2 separate regions of the Homo sapiens genome follow, and region 2 is linked to region 1. Evidence: promoter capture Hi-C in human tissues and cell types (Jung and others, 2019). All regions are on one chromosome and are shown on one strand. The core of a region is centred on a gene start or on the middle of the fragment in contact, and the rest is flanking DNA. Distances in the headings are between cores, read along the strand shown.

Evidence for each region. Contacts are between HindIII fragments. The study calls those that stand out against the background at their distance.
Region 2: a fragment that was not itself captured here is called in contact with the fragment with the promoter of BTG3 in region 1 in 1 of the 25 tissues and cell types used here (dorsolateral prefrontal cortex).

Annotation. Positions count from the first base shown.
Region 1 is chr21:17,611,314-17,614,331 of GRCh38, forward strand. BTG3 (BTG anti-proliferation factor 3) reads right to left here and starts at 1,588. Exons shown (of 5, transcript NM_006806.5): 1 at 1,386-1,588. BTG3-AS1 (BTG3 antisense RNA 1) reads left to right here and starts at 373. Exons shown (of 1, transcript NR_149073.1): 1 at 373-2,801. It also overlaps a transcript of CXADR not described here. The HindIII fragment of the contact is 18,267 bases long and covers 1-3,018 here.
Region 2 is chr21:17,428,746-17,431,763 of GRCh38, forward strand. It overlaps the pseudogene RNU6-113P. Among named protein-coding and RNA genes, the nearest start is that of LINC01549, 8.6 kb to the right of the region's middle. The HindIII fragment of the contact is 3,348 bases long and covers 1-3,018 here.

The DNA.
Region 1 (3,018 bases), core at 338-2,837:
AGATCTTTCTCCTCATTCATTACATTTGCCAACTATGTGCCACATATCTGAGTTCTGGATTTGTTTCTGTTTGCTCTGCTTCATATAAAAAAATAGAAAAGAAGGAAAGAACCACTTAGTGGTTGCTTTTGGTTGTAACACAAGATGACTCATTTGGACTTTTGTTTTCCCCGTTTGAAGAAATGATAGCTCGAACAGCTGAAAAATAAGCCCACTCCCACCAGTATTCTAGGAGTACCAAAAGGTGAAAGAGGGAGAGTTACAGTCAGGGCAAGAACCACCAGAGGCAAGCAGGGCCAAGAAGACCTCAGGCGTCTTGAGTAAGTAGGCGTCCTCCACCCACACTCAGAGCAAAAGGCTCCCATTTTAAATATCGCACGGTGACGTCATCCTGGGACCTCGTCACCGCGGCGGCTGCTCCTCAAGTTCTACTTTGTTCCACAAGGCTCCTCTGCTCACGGCTGCGTGGATAAAACCCAAAGGGAATCCAGAATCAAGCTCGGCCTCGCAGGAGTTTATAACTTTTGTACTTTTCCCTCCCTTGTAACGAAAAGCTAATCGCAAACGTTTCTAGGAACACATTTTTCTCCTGATAGACGTTCCCAAGGTGGAGGGCGCGAGAAGACTGGCCCGTGGGGTGAGGAGCCCCGGCCCGACCTCAGCGGCGCCACAAAGCCATGAAGAGGGGAAATAATTTTCCAAGGGGCTAAGAGTTGGACTTTCTGAAGCCATCGAAACCTGCTGCTAGGCTCTCCCGCTGGGGTTTTGAGAGAGGTAGGTGAGGAGGGATCAAACATCTCCACCCGCTCTTGAAAGAACCGCCTTGAGCTGCGCCCAACTTCTGCAATCCCGGTTTTCCCCAAGTTCAAGGGGAAGGGCCCTGGCGCCCAATGCCCAGCCTCCCCGACAACATCCTCGCCAGGGTGCGCCTGCCCCGCGGGTCCGCTGTCCCCGGCGGGCGGCCCTGGGTTCGAGGACCCGGCTTCCCGGAGGCGCGACTCTCCAGCAAACAAGCGGAGCTCCAGAAAAAACACCGACGCGAAGGGGGTGGACAGAGGGTGGGAAGCCGCGGGGTTGTCGCCCACCCGGAGGCGGAATGTAACGCGCTGTGGGAAACGTGGCAGGAGCCCTGAGGCGGCGTCTTTTTCCTCAGGCGCCCGCCGAGGGTCCCGCGGAAAGCCTCGCGGGCCGCCCTCGCGGCCCGCAGCCCCGCTCTGGCGCCGAGCCGGAGCCCATGCAACCTGGTTCCATCCCCTGCCCCTCCCCTGTCCCCGGTGCGCCGCCCGCCAGCGAGCCTTCGACGTGGCCGCAGGGGCGACGGGACCACCCTCCCCCGATACCCACAGCCCCGCCATGTCTGCCTTTCCCCGGCCCGGTCTCCTCACCGCCGCTGCCGCCGCCGCTCTTCGGCCGGAGATTCGGCGGCCCAGACCGTGTCCTGGCCGGGAACTGAGGGCTCCGCCTCAACGGGCCCGCGCTGGGCAACAGGGAGCGCAGCGAGCCTCGTCCGGCGCGTGCGGCTCCCGCGTCGTCGGGCGGCCAAGCGCGCGTTGAGAGGACTGGCGGGCGGACGAGCGCGCACACGAGTGAGCGCAGCCCCAAAGCGGCGCGCAGGGGGCTCGCGGCCCGGAAGAGGGGAGGGGCGATGACCCGGGAAAGGGTTGGCGCGCGCGGGATCGGCTCGCGCGCCTGAGGGGCGGTGCCGGGGGCGGGGCTTCGCCGCGAGGCCACCCCCGAGCCCCGGGCCTAGCCGCACGGGAGGCGACACACCCTCGCCCTACCCTGAGCCTGGCGCAGACCCTCGACCGCGACGGCGCGGTCCGCAGAACCGCGGGCTTCCCTCCCCGGCAAAAAGCGGCGCTGAAGGCCTGTGGGACCCCCGCCCGGCCGCCCTACGTGCGTCAGCGCCTTCGGGGGTCGCGCGGGCTTGGTCCTTTCGGCTGTCTCGGCCTTTTTGTTTCCCCCTCAGGTCTCTCCACGCTGCACTTGACACCCTCAGGGCGGAATGGCGAGTTCTAGACCCAGCTCTCTAGACCCGGGGCTTCATGGGGGACACGGACTCGACGGGAAGGGGAACTTGGCATTTATGGACAGATCCTCATCCTTCTTGCTGTAGTCAATTACACGCACGTTAACCGTGCAGCCGCCCTGCTGTATTTTAGGCGGTTGTTGGCACTCCTAGTTGGGCCCTTCCCTGGCCCCTCACAGCAGGGCCTGCCTCCTGTGGACGCTTGTGTGCTGCCCTGGCACCGGCCACTGTGTTTTGCATAAAGGAGAGGCTCCAAAGATGTTGGCCAAAGGAATGAAGCCTTGAGAGTCCAGGCTTTCTATTTCTGAGACACTCTACTCAAGGACTTCCCAGATGCAAAGCTTCATCTTTGAGCAAATACAAATATGGAGAGGGAACATTAACTTTCTGAAGAAAAGAAGGAACATCTTTTCAACCTTTTATATTGAGTTAACACCATGGTCTTAGTTTTGTGAAAGCACTTTAATACATCCAACTAGCGGGAGGAATACAAGATATTCCTACCTTTTTATTATTATTATTAAAAGAGGGCTAAACCATGTTGTAAACTACTTAAGAACTGAATGTTCAAGTTGTACAGTATATTGGCCAGATTCCTTACTGCCCACTAGGCTTGGGAGCATGTTTTCAGCTCAGTTTTATGAATGTTTTAAATTTGTATTACTGATCTTTGTTATAGCCAATTAGCAATTCAAAATGGTAATTTTTTTAGCAGTAATAAATATACCATCCCCCAAACAGTACAATAAACTTTATTTGTAAAAAAAAAAAATTATACTCTTCTAGGACTTAGTCTACTTACTGGTACATTTAAAGAGGATATTTACACCTTGGAGTCTTCTAGGAGGTGTGAAGGTGTTTTTATTTTAAAATCATAACAATCTGATGAGGTTATTTTTACAGATAAAGGCCTTTAATTCTGCAGTTTCATAAAATAGCTAGGTAACCACCCACATTACTCAAAATTTGTCCAGAAATTTCTATAGTTT
Region 2 (3,018 bases), core at 305-2,804, 180 kb before region 1:
CTCCTGAGTAGCTGAGATCACGGGCCCGTACCACCATGCCTGGATAATTTCTGTATTTTTTTGTAGAGACATGGTTTCACCATATTGCCCAAGCTGGTCTTGAACTCCTGGACTCAAGTAATCTGCCCACCTCAACCTCCCAAAGTGCTGGGATTACAGGTGTGAGCCACCATGCTTGGCTGTATGTATGATGACGCTTTAAAATAAAATTTAAAATAATTCACCTGTAAGAAGATACTTGAAGACTCTGTGAACATTTTGTTTAGCTGATAAACACAATCATTACATATCACTCAATTCTTTCTTTCATTCTCCACCTGAGCCCAACTGTCCACTTCTATCCAAACCTTTCAGTGACATAAGGACTTATAGCACCTGTAGTTATCCTCCTGTGGTTAATCATTCCCCCATTCCTACAGACTATCAAATTGACATTTGCAGGGACCGTATCTTAATCACAACCTCTAGAACAGTGTTGTTCTCATATAGGCACGCTTGGAGAATTTATGAATGAATGTGACTTGGCAGCCACCTCTTATGCCGGCGCCTATGCACCTACAGAGACTTCGTGAAGCCCTGGCACATTGTTTTTAATTGTTAAATTTCTCAGTTATGGGTATAATAGAGGCATTAAAGAGCATATAAGATTGTCTTCTCATTATGGATACAGACTTTCATTCAGGTAATCCTATTACACACTTTACCTTTGCATCTGTCTAGTGCAGCCATTAGTTGGCCACAAAATCTGAAATAAATATTTCATATTAAATTTAAAAATTGGCTGGGCCGTGGTGGCTCACGCCTGTAATCCCAGCACTTTGGGAGGCCAAGGTGGGCAGATCACGAGGTCAAGAAACAAGACCATCCTGGCTAACATGGTGAATACCCTGTCTCTAATAAAAATATAAAAAATTAGCTGGGCGTGGTGGCACGTGCCTGTAGTCCCAGCCACTCGGGAGGCTGAGGCAGGAGAATCACTTGAATCTGAGAGGTGGTGGTTGCAGTGAGCAGAGATCACGCCGCTGCCTCCAGCCTGGGCGACAGAGGGAGACTCCGTCTCAAAAAAAAAAAAATTAAAAACTATGATGTGCAGATATTTTCCCCTAGTATGAAAGCTTAAGTTATTAAATCTGTAGAAAGGCTGAAGAACTTAATGAGGATGTTTTATGTTAATAGGATAAATTTAATTGTTAAGATGTTAAGGTGGTGTGTTAAGGTGACAAAGGGGAAGTGGAAGGAAAGAGAACTAACATTACTGGGCACGTACTACATGCCAGTATCTGCTTCAGGTGCTTTAAAAACATTCTCCCAGTCCCCACCCAACTCTGGGACACACGCTCCATTATGCTCACTGCAGGGTGTGGATGGAAAATGAAAGGGTTAGTTCTACCCAGAAGCACCTGCCTAAGATGCCCTGTGCCCCATCCCTTGGGCCCACCTGACATTAGTGGCACTAATGTGAACAGCGGCATGCATGCTGCAAGTGCCCCACCTTCAGTGGGTGCTGTGGTGTCCCTTGGGGACACCCAAGCAGGCCACAGCCTGGAAGTGCAGGAGAGTTAGTAAGTAACAGTGGATGGAAGTCAGCAGATTAATGCCCCAGCCTCCTTGTCCTTCAGTGGAACAATGCTGAAGCACAGTCTATGAAGTTCCACAGCTGATCCCGAGTGTAAGTGGGCCTTATTTTTCCATAATGGTTTCCAACTGAGTAGCACACACTTTATAGGCTTTCTCACTTCCTTGTCTCTCTCTTCTCACACCTCACTTCTGCTTCCTGGGATCAATATCATCAGTCAATAGGTAAATGCAGATAGACTACCTGCATCCAAGTCCCTTGCCTTAGACTCTACTTTGCAAGAACCCAAGCTAAGACATACAACAATATTAGTCAGTCTCCTCCTTCTTTAATAATGAAACCCCCAGCCAGGCGTGGTGGCTCGCTCTTGTAATCCTAGCACTTTGGGAGGCCAAGGCAGGCAGATCACCTGAGGTCAGGAGTTCGAGACCAGTCTGGCCAACATGGTGAAACCCCGTCTCTACTAAAAATACAAAAATTAGCTGGGTGTGGTGGTGGGCTCCTGTAATCCCAGCTACTCAGGAGGCCGAGGCAGGAGAATCGCTTTAACCCAGGAGGTGGAGGTTGCAGTGAGCGGAGATTGCGCCACTGCACTCCAGGCTGGGCAACAGAGTGAAACTCCATCTCAAAATAAAATAAAATAAAATTTAAAAATATTGAAACCCCCAGGTTTTAGCTGTGCCCAGGACCATTGAGTTATAGATTATATTATCCCAGCATCTTTGCAACCAGATAAGACCATGTAACTTTTTGCCAATAGGATATAAGTGCTTTTATTTAACAAGCTTTGCCTTTAAAAGAAATAAGGGTGTATTTTCTTGTTCCTTTGACCATTCCTGCTGTCTGGGATGTAGATGTAATGGCAGGAGCTAGAACAGCCCTCACAGATCCAGAGATAGAAGCCATATTTTGAGGATGGGCTGAGCTGTCCATCCTACCCTACCCTGTTCTGCTTCACTGAGGACTATTTCAGGAGAGAAAAACAAATGTCTCTCTTCCTTTTTTTTTTTTTTTTTTTTTTTTTGGGAGACGGAGTCTCGTTCTGTCACCCAGGCTGGAGTGCAGTGGCAGGATCTTGGCTCACTGCAACCTCCGCCTCCCGGTTCAAGCAATTTCTCTGCCCTCAGCCTCCTAAGCAGCTGGGATTACAGGCGCCTGCCACCACGCCCAGCTAATTTTAACATCTCTCTTCTTAAGCCACAGTATTGTAGGGATCTCTCTACTAATGTAGCATGGCACACATATATGGAAATTGGAACAGTGCAGAGATTAGCGTGGCTCCTGTGCAAGGATGACACACAAATTTGTGATGTGTTCCATACTTTTAACATAGTTAGAAAGAATGAATAAGATCCAGTGTTTGATAGCACAGCAGGGTGAATATAGTAAATAATAATTTAATTGTACACTTAAAAAATCACTAAAAGAGTATAATTAGTCTG